2 separate regions of the Homo sapiens genome follow, and region 2 is linked to region 1. The links are contacts of gene promoters, found by promoter capture Hi-C in blood cells and fetal thymus (Javierre and others, 2016). All regions are on one chromosome and are shown on one strand. Each heading gives the region's core, a stretch centred on a gene start or on the middle of the fragment in contact. The rest is flanking DNA. Distances are from core to core; before and after follow the strand shown. Region 1 holds the start of FUCA2 (alpha-L-fucosidase 2). Region 2 has its middle 25 kb from the start of PLAGL1.

What was found. The method cuts DNA at HindIII sites, captures the fragments that hold promoters and counts their contacts. A CHiCAGO score of 5 or more calls a contact.
Region 2: a fragment that was not itself captured here is called in contact with the fragment with the promoter of FUCA2 in region 1 in 1 of 17 cell types (M0 macrophages); the score reaches 6.4 in M0 macrophages.

What each region holds. Positions count from the first base shown.
Region 1 is chr6:143,510,173-143,515,092 of GRCh38, reverse strand. It overlaps FUCA2 (alpha-L-fucosidase 2), which reads left to right and starts at 3,373. Exons shown (of 7, transcript NM_032020.5): 1 at 3,373-3,682. The coding sequence starts at 3,459. It overlaps LOC105378035 (a long non-coding RNA gene), which reads right to left and starts at 3,308. Exons shown (of 4, transcript XR_007059796.1): 1 at 2,317-3,308; 2 at 1-2,099. RefSeq lists enhancers at 2,413-3,073, 3,095-3,274, 3,385-3,514, 3,074-3,736 and a silencer at 3,937-4,140. The HindIII fragment of the contact is 2,651 bases long and covers 2,398-4,920 here.
Region 2 is chr6:144,030,697-144,035,517 of GRCh38, reverse strand. It overlaps a transcript of PLAGL1 not described here. Among named protein-coding and RNA genes, the nearest start is that of PLAGL1, 25 kb to the right of the region's middle. The HindIII fragment of the contact is 1,199 bases long and covers 714-1,912 here.

The DNA.
Region 1 (4,920 bases), core at 2,124-4,623:
CATCTCCCGCCTGGGCACCCTGAGTATCAGCAGCTGCCCAACATGCGGCTGCTGGCCGTGATGGTTCCAGAAGGGAGGCACGCCCTTCTGTCTTCATCTTGTACCCCAAGTAACCTCAGACAAACAGGATCAGAGTTGACAGTGTTCCCCATCAAGGCCACAAGCCCTTCAAATGCCTTATACATGAGCCATGTGTACCTGCAGAACCCAGGGTTTCACTCAGATTTCTGGATCCCCTATCAAAACCTTTAAATACACAGTTTAAGCCTTATGAGGTGTGATTCTATTGCTCAGTTAGCAGTAGCTTTAAGTGCAAAGACTAGCTTTGTAAGGCATTACAAACGTATAAAATGTGAATGGAATCTACAGCAGGCAGGTCTTTCCCTAAAGGACCATGTTCTAAACGACTTCATAGATTTATTTCTTTCAGTCATTTAACAAATATTTTTAAGTAGAATCTCTTCTTCCTCTTCACTTTCAGATAATACTATTTACTATTCCTTTCAAATCCTATAGCAATGGTTCCCAACCTGGTATATTAGGATTCTTATGTGTCCTGAAGGGCACTAAGGGAGGTCTTTAATATATTTTCAGTATTTCTTACAGAAAATAGACTTTTATGATAAGGTTGTACTTACCAGTTAAAAACATTTCTTTGCCTTCAAGTGAAATGACAAATGACCCAAGTGGCATCCATACAGATCTGATTACCACTCTTTAACTGAAATATATGGAAGTGTAAATAATTCATAACATGATAAAAGGGCTTTGGAAGATGGGCGTTTCTGCTATGTGGTGTTCACATGGGGAAAGGATGCCCACTTATGAGAGGACAGGGTCCTGCTGCCGCTGCATTGTCACCACAGTCATGTCTACTCTCCCTATGGCAGTTCACAGTATCATTGTCACTGTGAATATTGTCTTTTGCACTTATTACACAAACTTCTGATTAGAGAGGATGTCAAGGCATAGTGGCTGAGAAGCCCATATTTTTGTTCAAGTGTGCCCCAGGGTTCAGTGGCCACTGAGGCCCTAGATCATTCTGGGTTCCACAAACTCAATAATAAATATTTGTCAGCCCAGGCACCGTGGCTCATGCCTGTAATCCCAGCACTTTGAGAGGCTGAGGCAGGAGGATGACTTGAGATCAGGGGTTCAAAACCAGCCTTGCCAACATGGTGAAAATACAAAAGTTAGCTGGAGGTTGGGGTCTGTAATCCCAGCTACTCGGGAGGCTGAGACACGATAATTGCTTGAATCCCCGGGGGTGGAGGTGGCAGTGAGTCAACACTGTGCCACTGCACTCCAGCCTGGGCAACAGAACCAGACTCTGTCTCAAATAAAAAAAAATTGTCATCTTTATCACAAACTGGAGCTATTGCAATTGGATTCGTTGAGCCCTTTCCTCTAGAACACCCTCACTGTAAAAAAACAAAACAAAATTGGGGACTCTTACGGTGGAGCTGTGGCCCCGGGGGGCCATCTGGCATGTCATGGAGAGGAAAAATGCCCCTACACCTGCAGTGACAGCGCCCTCTGCTGCTCCCATCTCTCTGCAGAGATGGGTTGGGATAATGCAGGCAACAGCCACTTAGTGTCAAGTTCTTCACTCAATAATTAGAACCCCAGTTCACTGGAGAGCTTCAACAAACATTTTGAGTGCTGCTTTTCTGCTGTAATTGTAGGCACTACAGAAAAGAAGGTCATTATGAATGCCCTCAAAAAGCTCACAGTCTGATGGGAAATCAGACCTGTACCACCTAGCTACTAGAGGATGCGTGAAATCCTATGTGTGCTTGGAAGGAGGTGTTATGAAGCAGATCAGGGAAAGTACAACATTCTGGGAGGGAAGGGTGGTGGCAGAAAGCTTCACAAAAGAAGCAGCATTTGAATTGGCTCATTGAAGGGTAATGATTTCATGGGGGCAGAAGCAGTTGAGGATTCTGGCTTTACTTTGAAAACACTTACGAGGTGGAGGAGAGGCTGGGCTTGGTGGCTCATGCCTGTAATTCTAGCACTTTGGGAGGCCAAGGCGGGCAGATCACCTGAGGTCAAGAGTTTGAGACCAGCTTGTCCAACATGGTGAAACCCTGTCTCTACTAAAAAAGAAAAGAAAAATACAAAAATTAGTCTGGCACAGTGGCATGTGCCTGTAGTCCCAGCTACTCTGGAGGCTGAGGCAGGAGAATCCTTGAACCCGGGAGGCAGAGGCTGCAGTGAGCCTAGATCATGTTACTGCACTCAAGCCTGGGCGAGAGAGCGAGACTCTGTCTCAAAAACAAACAAACAAACAAACAAACAAACAAACAAACAAACCAAACAAGAGGTGGAGGTGATAAGCTTCCCAAATATCCTTTTGATTAATCTTTCCAAGTTGCTGGCCTTTTTTCCCAAGCTTGCAGGTTTCTTAAACATTCATTCCACTGGTTTCACCTGTCTCAGATCATCTCCTTGTTCAATGCAGTGGTTCTCAGGAAAGTTTGGACCACCAATCAGAAACATCACAATTTTGTTTTCTTTCTTTTTTTTTTTTTTTTTGAGATGGAGTCTCACTCTGTAGCCCAGGCTGGAGTGCAGTGGCACCGTCTCTGCTCACTGTAACTGCCTCCCGGGTTCAAGCGATTCTCCTGCCTCAGCCTCCCGAGTAACTGGGACTACAGGCGTCCGCCACCACGTCCCGCTAATTTTTTGTATTTTTAGTAGGGACGGGGTTTCACCGTGTTAGTCAGGATGGTCTCGATCTTCTGACCTTGTGATCCGCCCGCCTCGGCCTCCCAAAGTGTTGGGATTACAGGAGTGAGCCACCGCGCCCGGCCCAACATCAGAACATCCTAGAAGTAGGAACTGGGTAGAAACGCAAATTCTTGGGCCCCAACCTAACTGCTGAATCTGAAGCTCTTGGAATTTCATCTGATACAAATTCAAGGTTGACAACCACGGTTCTAACATGCAGGATCTTGGGAGCTGATACAGAGGCCGAGAAGGATCTAGGTTGCTTTCCATGTTCCATCATGGCGAGACCCGGCTGAAGTTCCTGCCTTGACCTTCTCGTGCACGCTTCGGACGTGTGGAGCAGCCACCAGGGTGGGCTGGGGGCATTGTCTTCTTGGGCAGTTTCTTGGTCAGGGTCGTGTCTGCTTGAGGGCAGAGGCGCTGGCCACAAGGCCCTGACTCAGACTCATATTTTCCCCTCAAGAGGACAGAGCCTTAGCAAAGCCGTCCCAGCTGGCTTTGGGGTAATGCTGGCCTTAGTTATGCTGAGCGATGCAGCCCTCCTGAGGTCATTCGGAACGCCCGGGAGAGTGGCCACTCCCGCCCCAGAGGGGGAAGGGTGGCCGGTTTCCAAGTCCGACTTGGTCAGGTGACCGCGGCGCGGCATACTCAGCGGCAGAGACGGAAGAACAGCGCTCCCGAGGCCGCGGGAGCCTGCAGAGAGGACAGCCGGCCTGCGCCGGGACATGCGGCCCCAGGAGCTCCCCAGGCTCGCGTTCCCGTTGCTGCTGTTGCTGTTGCTGCTGCTGCCGCCGCCGCCGTGCCCTGCCCACAGCGCCACGCGCTTCGACCCCACCTGGGAGTCCCTGGACGCCCGCCAGCTGCCCGCGTGGTTTGACCAGGCCAAGTTCGGCATCTTCATCCACTGGGGAGTGTTTTCCGTGCCCAGCTTCGGTAGCGAGTGGTTCTGGTGAGTGCGCTCCCTTTTGTCTCGTCTGCCGCGCTTTTGTCCCCACCCGCAGCCTCCAGCCACCACCCAGCGGGCCTGGTTCGCCGCCTGGTGCTGCCTGCACCCTCGTCGGTTTCACCTCCCACTGCGTTACCCGCGTTTCGCACTTCCGGGTGTCGAATATGTGGTTTCCTGCCTAAGTGCTTCTGCTGGATGAACAGGGAATTTTTCTTCCGTGTGACTGTAAGAGTTTTCAGATACTCCTGACTCCTCAGCTTCTTCATAGTTGCGCATATTAAGCTGTAGTTATGACACTACAACATCGAGCTACTACAGACATTCATCAGTTTGTGCAGGGGCATCACACGAGCGGTGACTCAGGCACAATGGCCTATGGTTGCTCTGCTGCTACCTGCCAATTTACAGTCGTTCTGCCATGAAGTTATGGTTAAAACATAGTCATGAGTATGTGAAACGACTGTTCATTGAACACCATTGGCTACTTAATGTTAACATGTTACCCATGTGTGGCTCTAGGAACTTTTTAAAGAGGTTCTAGAATGGTACTCTTAACACAACCCAGTTATCATACTGCCGTATGAAAGGTGCTACACAAAAATCTGTGCGTTAGATTTTACCTTGAGATCTATGTGAAAATGTGCATGTAATTTCTTAAACTGTTGCACATGTCTTTTCTGACTAAATGCTACAAGTATTAAGTCCTTCAAAACAGAAATATTTTGTGTGCATATATAGAAACATACACATAATATATTCTTTTTTTTTTTTTTTTGAGACATAGTCTCATTCTGTCACCCAGGCTGGAGTGCAGTGGCACCATCTCGGCTCACTGCAACCTTCGCCGCCCGGGTTCAAACGATTCTCGCGCCTTAGCCTCCTGAGTAGCTGGGACTACAGGCGCACGCCACCATGCCTGGCCAATTTTTTTGTATTTTTTAGTAGAAACGGGGTTTTGCCATGTTAGCCAGGCTGGTCTTGAACTCCTGACCTCAGGTGATCCGCGGTGGCTCATACCTGTAATTCCAGGACTTTGGGACACATAATATATTCTTAAGTAAAAGAACGGAATCATTAAACAGTATTTATTTGAATCAACTATATACTACATAAATAGTATACATCCAAATTAACATACTATATTTAGTAGACACAATACAGAGTATGAACTATATATTATATTAACATTACATAGTATACATGGTACCATGCTCTACTCTAGGGGTAGAAAAATTACACCT
Region 2 (4,821 bases), core at 64-2,563, 520 kb before region 1:
GGCACCATCTAATCAGCTGCCAGCACGGCTAGAATAAAGCAGGCAGGAGAAGATGGGAGGGCAGATTTGCTGAGTCTTCCGGCCTTCATCTTTCTCCCGTGCTAGATGCTTGCTGCCCTTGAACATTAGACTCCAAGTACTTCAGCTTTTGGACTCTTGGACTTACACCAGTGGTTTTCCATGGGCTCTCGGGCCTTTGGCCATAGACTGAAGGCTGCACTGTGAGCTTCCCTATCTTTGAGTTTTTGGTGCTTGGATTGATCTACCACTGGCTTCCTTGCTCCTCAGCTTGCAGGAGGCCTATTGTATGACTTCACCTTGTGATTGTGTGAGTCAATTCTCCTTAATAAACTCCCTCTCATATATACATCTATCCTATTAGTTATGTGTCTCTAGATAACCCTAATATACCCCCAACCCCCTGAAACATTTTAGTATGAAAAACTTTGAAATGTACAGGAAAGTTGAATTTTACAGTGAATGCCCTTATACCCACCACTAGATTCTATCATTAACATTTAACTGTTCTCAATGTATTACATACCCATCCATCAATTTACCTTATTTCCAAGTTAATACTCAAAGATTTTTGTCCAAACCTGAAAGCCTTCAGCTGTAGTCCTAGATCAGGCTCTGGGAGGAGTATTAGTCTACTCAGTGATGTTAAACAAAGCTGATGCTTTGTTCCTGGTTCATCTACTTTGCTTAAAGCTTGCAAAACTCCACAAATCTGAAAATTACTGTCAGCTATGTAAGATGACAGTCCCCTCCAAGGAAGATTTTTTTTTTCAATCTTAAAAGCTAGGGGGAAAACCTGATTTTTAGAATAAAATAAACTCCAAAGTTAAGTTCCATGTTTGATATTGTAGATGAAATTTTGGCTGTCCAAGGTTCATTATTGCATAATGACAATTTGTCGGGGCCTCCCACTTTTCTTTGCTGGAGGACTGAATTAGCTGCACACTTCCTTTCTGGCAGATGATTTATTGAACCCCCTGAATGAGAGGAGGATACAAAGGAAACAAATAAGTGTTTTATTTTCTTGAAGAGAAACAAACACTAAAAGGACTTGAGGCTTACTTAGTTAACAGGAAAACTGGAGAGGCTTAAGTCACTGCCCTTGGGATGAGTGTGCAGTGAGCCCCGTCTTCCAGTCAGCCTGGGGGCTGTGTGCCCAGCAGCCTGAGTCAGCAATCTGGGGCCTAGAGGCTTCAGTCCAGAGGGTGTGGTGTGGTTGGGGGGTTGTCAGCCTGGGCCTTGGCAGCTAGAGAAAGATGGAAGAGCCCTGGAATGAGGCACCCCAGGAGGGAGGCTGGGGTTCGCTAAGCTGGGGCACCCCCTCCTCCAACAACGTGGTTTTACATGTAAACACAGGTCATTCTTTTCAGCCCTGCATGGAGATGTAATTAACAGTATAAAAGACTCCAGGAAAATTGAAGTCTGCAGTTTTATATGTACTACATGGAGACCATGTCTGTAGTGTAGTAAAAGCATCCATGTGTTTTTGATTTTGCATAGTGTATCTTTCATCTCTAGCAATTCTATTTGGGTTCTTCTACATTCTTGAGTGTTTGGAGCACATTTATAATAGCTGCTTTTATGTTCAAGTCTCATTACCTCAGACTTAGAAAAGACCATTTCTTTTGACAGATTTTTTTCTCTAGTTATGGGTCATATCTTCCTGCTTTTTTGCATGCCTGATAATTTTTTGATGTGAAGGTAGACCTTGTGATTTTACATTGTTTTATGCTGGATTTTGTTTTATTCCTTTAAATAGTGTTGGACTTTGTTCTGGCATGTAGTTAAGTTACCTGATCAGTTCTAAACTTGGACATCTCTTTAGCTAAATATCCCAGTCCACTGTTTACACTTCTGGCTTTCCACATAACTACAGGACACATTTCACTAAGCTTTCTACTAGTATATAACAAAGATCATCCTTACTGCAGTTTCTAGTAATGTGTTCCTCATTTCCTTCTGAACTCTCACTGGTACCACCTTTCCTGTCTGTATTTCAGTTTGCTGAAGACAATCTAGGTTTTTCCATCATGTTTCTCAGAATTCTTCCAGCTTCTACCCACTCCCCAATTCCAAGGCTTTCCACATTTTTAGATATTTGTTACAACAGCACACCACTTCCAGGCAGCAAAGTTCATATTAGTTTTCTATTGCTGCCCTGACAAATTACTACAAACTTAGTGGCTTAAACCTGGTATTTATTATGCCCTAGGTCTGTAGGTAAAAAGTCCAAGCTGACCCTGCAGTAGCTCTGACATCGTCTCTCACCATTCTTTGTATATTCCAGGCTTTAGCAATTACAGGCAGTAGTCCTCATGTCACTCACATATCTGCGCACTTCTTGTGGTATGACCTTTACCTAGCATGCTCTTCCCATTTTGTTTATTTGCTGATGTCCTGTTTTCTAAAATTCATCTAATGAATAATTTCTTCTAGAAACTTGGGCTCTACTACTGAGTTCAGCTAAGTGACCTAAATCTGTGTGTCCATAATAGCATGTGGTCCTTCATCATCACTTATCATGCCATATAGAATTATCTATCACATGTCTATTGCCCCGATATAGTGTCCCTCTTAATCTCTTACCTCTCAGGGTTTACTTAGTAATTGCCTGGAACATAGTAGCAACCAAAGAATGCTTAGAATTGAACTAGGTAGGCTGGGCATGGTGGTTCATGCCTGTAATCCCAGCACACTGGATCACTTGAGGTCAGGAGTTTGACCAGCCTGGCCAACATGGTGAAACCCTGTCTCTACTAAAAATACAAAAATTAGCCAGGCGTGTTGGCATACGCCTGTAATCCCAGCTACTTGGAAGGCTGAAGCAGGAGAATTGCTAGAGCCCAGGAGGCGGACGTTGCAGTGAGCCGAGACTGTGCCATTTGACTCCAGCCTGAGTGACAAACCAAGACTCCGTCTCAAAAAACAAACAAACAAAACCCCAAAAACACAACCAAAACTGAACTAGGAGGTAGAAGAAATTATGACACTATTTTACCACTTAGAACTTAAAATTTCTGCCAAGAAGCTAAAAATTAGAAGGCAGATAAAAACTGGCTTAAAAATTGCAATAAGTAGCTGGGCATGGTGGTTCACACCTGAAATCCCAGCACTTTGTGGGGCTGAGGTGGGAGGATCACTTGAGCCCAGGACTTTGAGACCAGCCTGGGCAACATAGTGAAACCTCATCTCCACCAAAAAAAAAAAAAAAAAAAGCCAGGTGTGGTGGCACATGCCTGGAGTCTCAGCTACTCAGGAGGCTGGGGCAGGAGGATCGCTTGAGCCCAGGAAGTTGAGGCTGCAGTGAGCTGTGATTGTGTCACTGCACTCCAGCCTGGGCAACAGAGAGATAGATACTCTGTCTCAAAAAAAAAAAAATGCAATAAGTTATAGGGAGAAACTTGATATACCATATATTTTATAAAAACCATTGTGCCCAAATAGGTAAAGGGGAAAAGGTCATCATGACTATGAAAGAAATCATAGATGACACAAAGAAATGGAAACACATCCCATGCTCATGCATAGGTAGAATTAATATTGTGAAATTGATCATACTACCAAAAGCAGTCTACAAATTCAATATAATTCCTGTCAAAATACCACCATCATTCTTCACAGAACTAGAAAAAACAATCCTAAAATTCATATGGAACCAAAAAAGAGCCTGCATAGCCAAAGCGAGACTAAGCAAAAAGAACAAATCTGGAGACATCACATTACCCAACGTCAAACTGTACTCTAAGGCCATAGTCACCAAAACAGCATGGTACTGGTATAAAAATAGGTACATAGACCAATGGAAAAGACTAGAGAACCCAGAAATAAAGCCAAATACTTACAGTCAACTGATCATTGACAAAGCAAACAAAAACATAAAGTGGGGAAAGGACACCCTATTCAACAAATGGTGCTGGGATAATTTGCAAGCCACATGTATGAGAATGAAATTGGATCCTCATCTCTCTTCTTATACAAAGATCAACTCAAGATGGATCAAAGACTTAAATCTAAGACCTGAAACTGTAAAAGTTCTAGAAGATAACATCAGAAAAATCCTTCTAGACCTTGGCTTAGACAAAGACTTCATGACCAAGAATCCAAGAGCAAAAGCAACAAAAACAAATATAAATAGATGGGACTTAATTAAACTAAAAAGCTTCCACATAGCAAAAGAAACAATTAGCAGAGTTGACAGACAACCCACAGAGTGGGAGAAAATTTTCACAACCTATATATCTGACAAAGAAAAATATCCAGAATCTACAAAGAACTCAAACAAATCAGCAAGAATAAAACAAACAATTCCATCAAAAAGCGGGCTAAGGATATCCATAGACAATTCTCAAAAGAAGATATACAAATGGCCAACAAGCATATGGAAAAATGCTCAACATCACTATCAGGGAAATGCAAATCAAAACCACAATGCGATATCACCTCATTTCTGCAAGAATGGCCATAATAAAAAAAAATACAGATGTTGGTGTGGATGCGGTGGAAAGGGAACACATATATTGTTGGCGGGAATGTAAACTAGTGCAACCACTTTGGAAAACACTGTGGAGATTCCTTAAAGAACTAAAAGTAGATCTACCATTTGAACTAAAAGTAGATCTACCATTTGATCCGCAATTCCACTACTGGGTATCTACCCAGAGGAAAAGAAGTCATTATACGATAAAGATACTTGCACACTCATGTTTATAGCAGCACAATTGCAAAAATATGGAACCAGCCCAAATGCCCATCAGTCAACAAGTGGATAAAGCAAATGTGGTGTATGTATACCATGGACTGCTA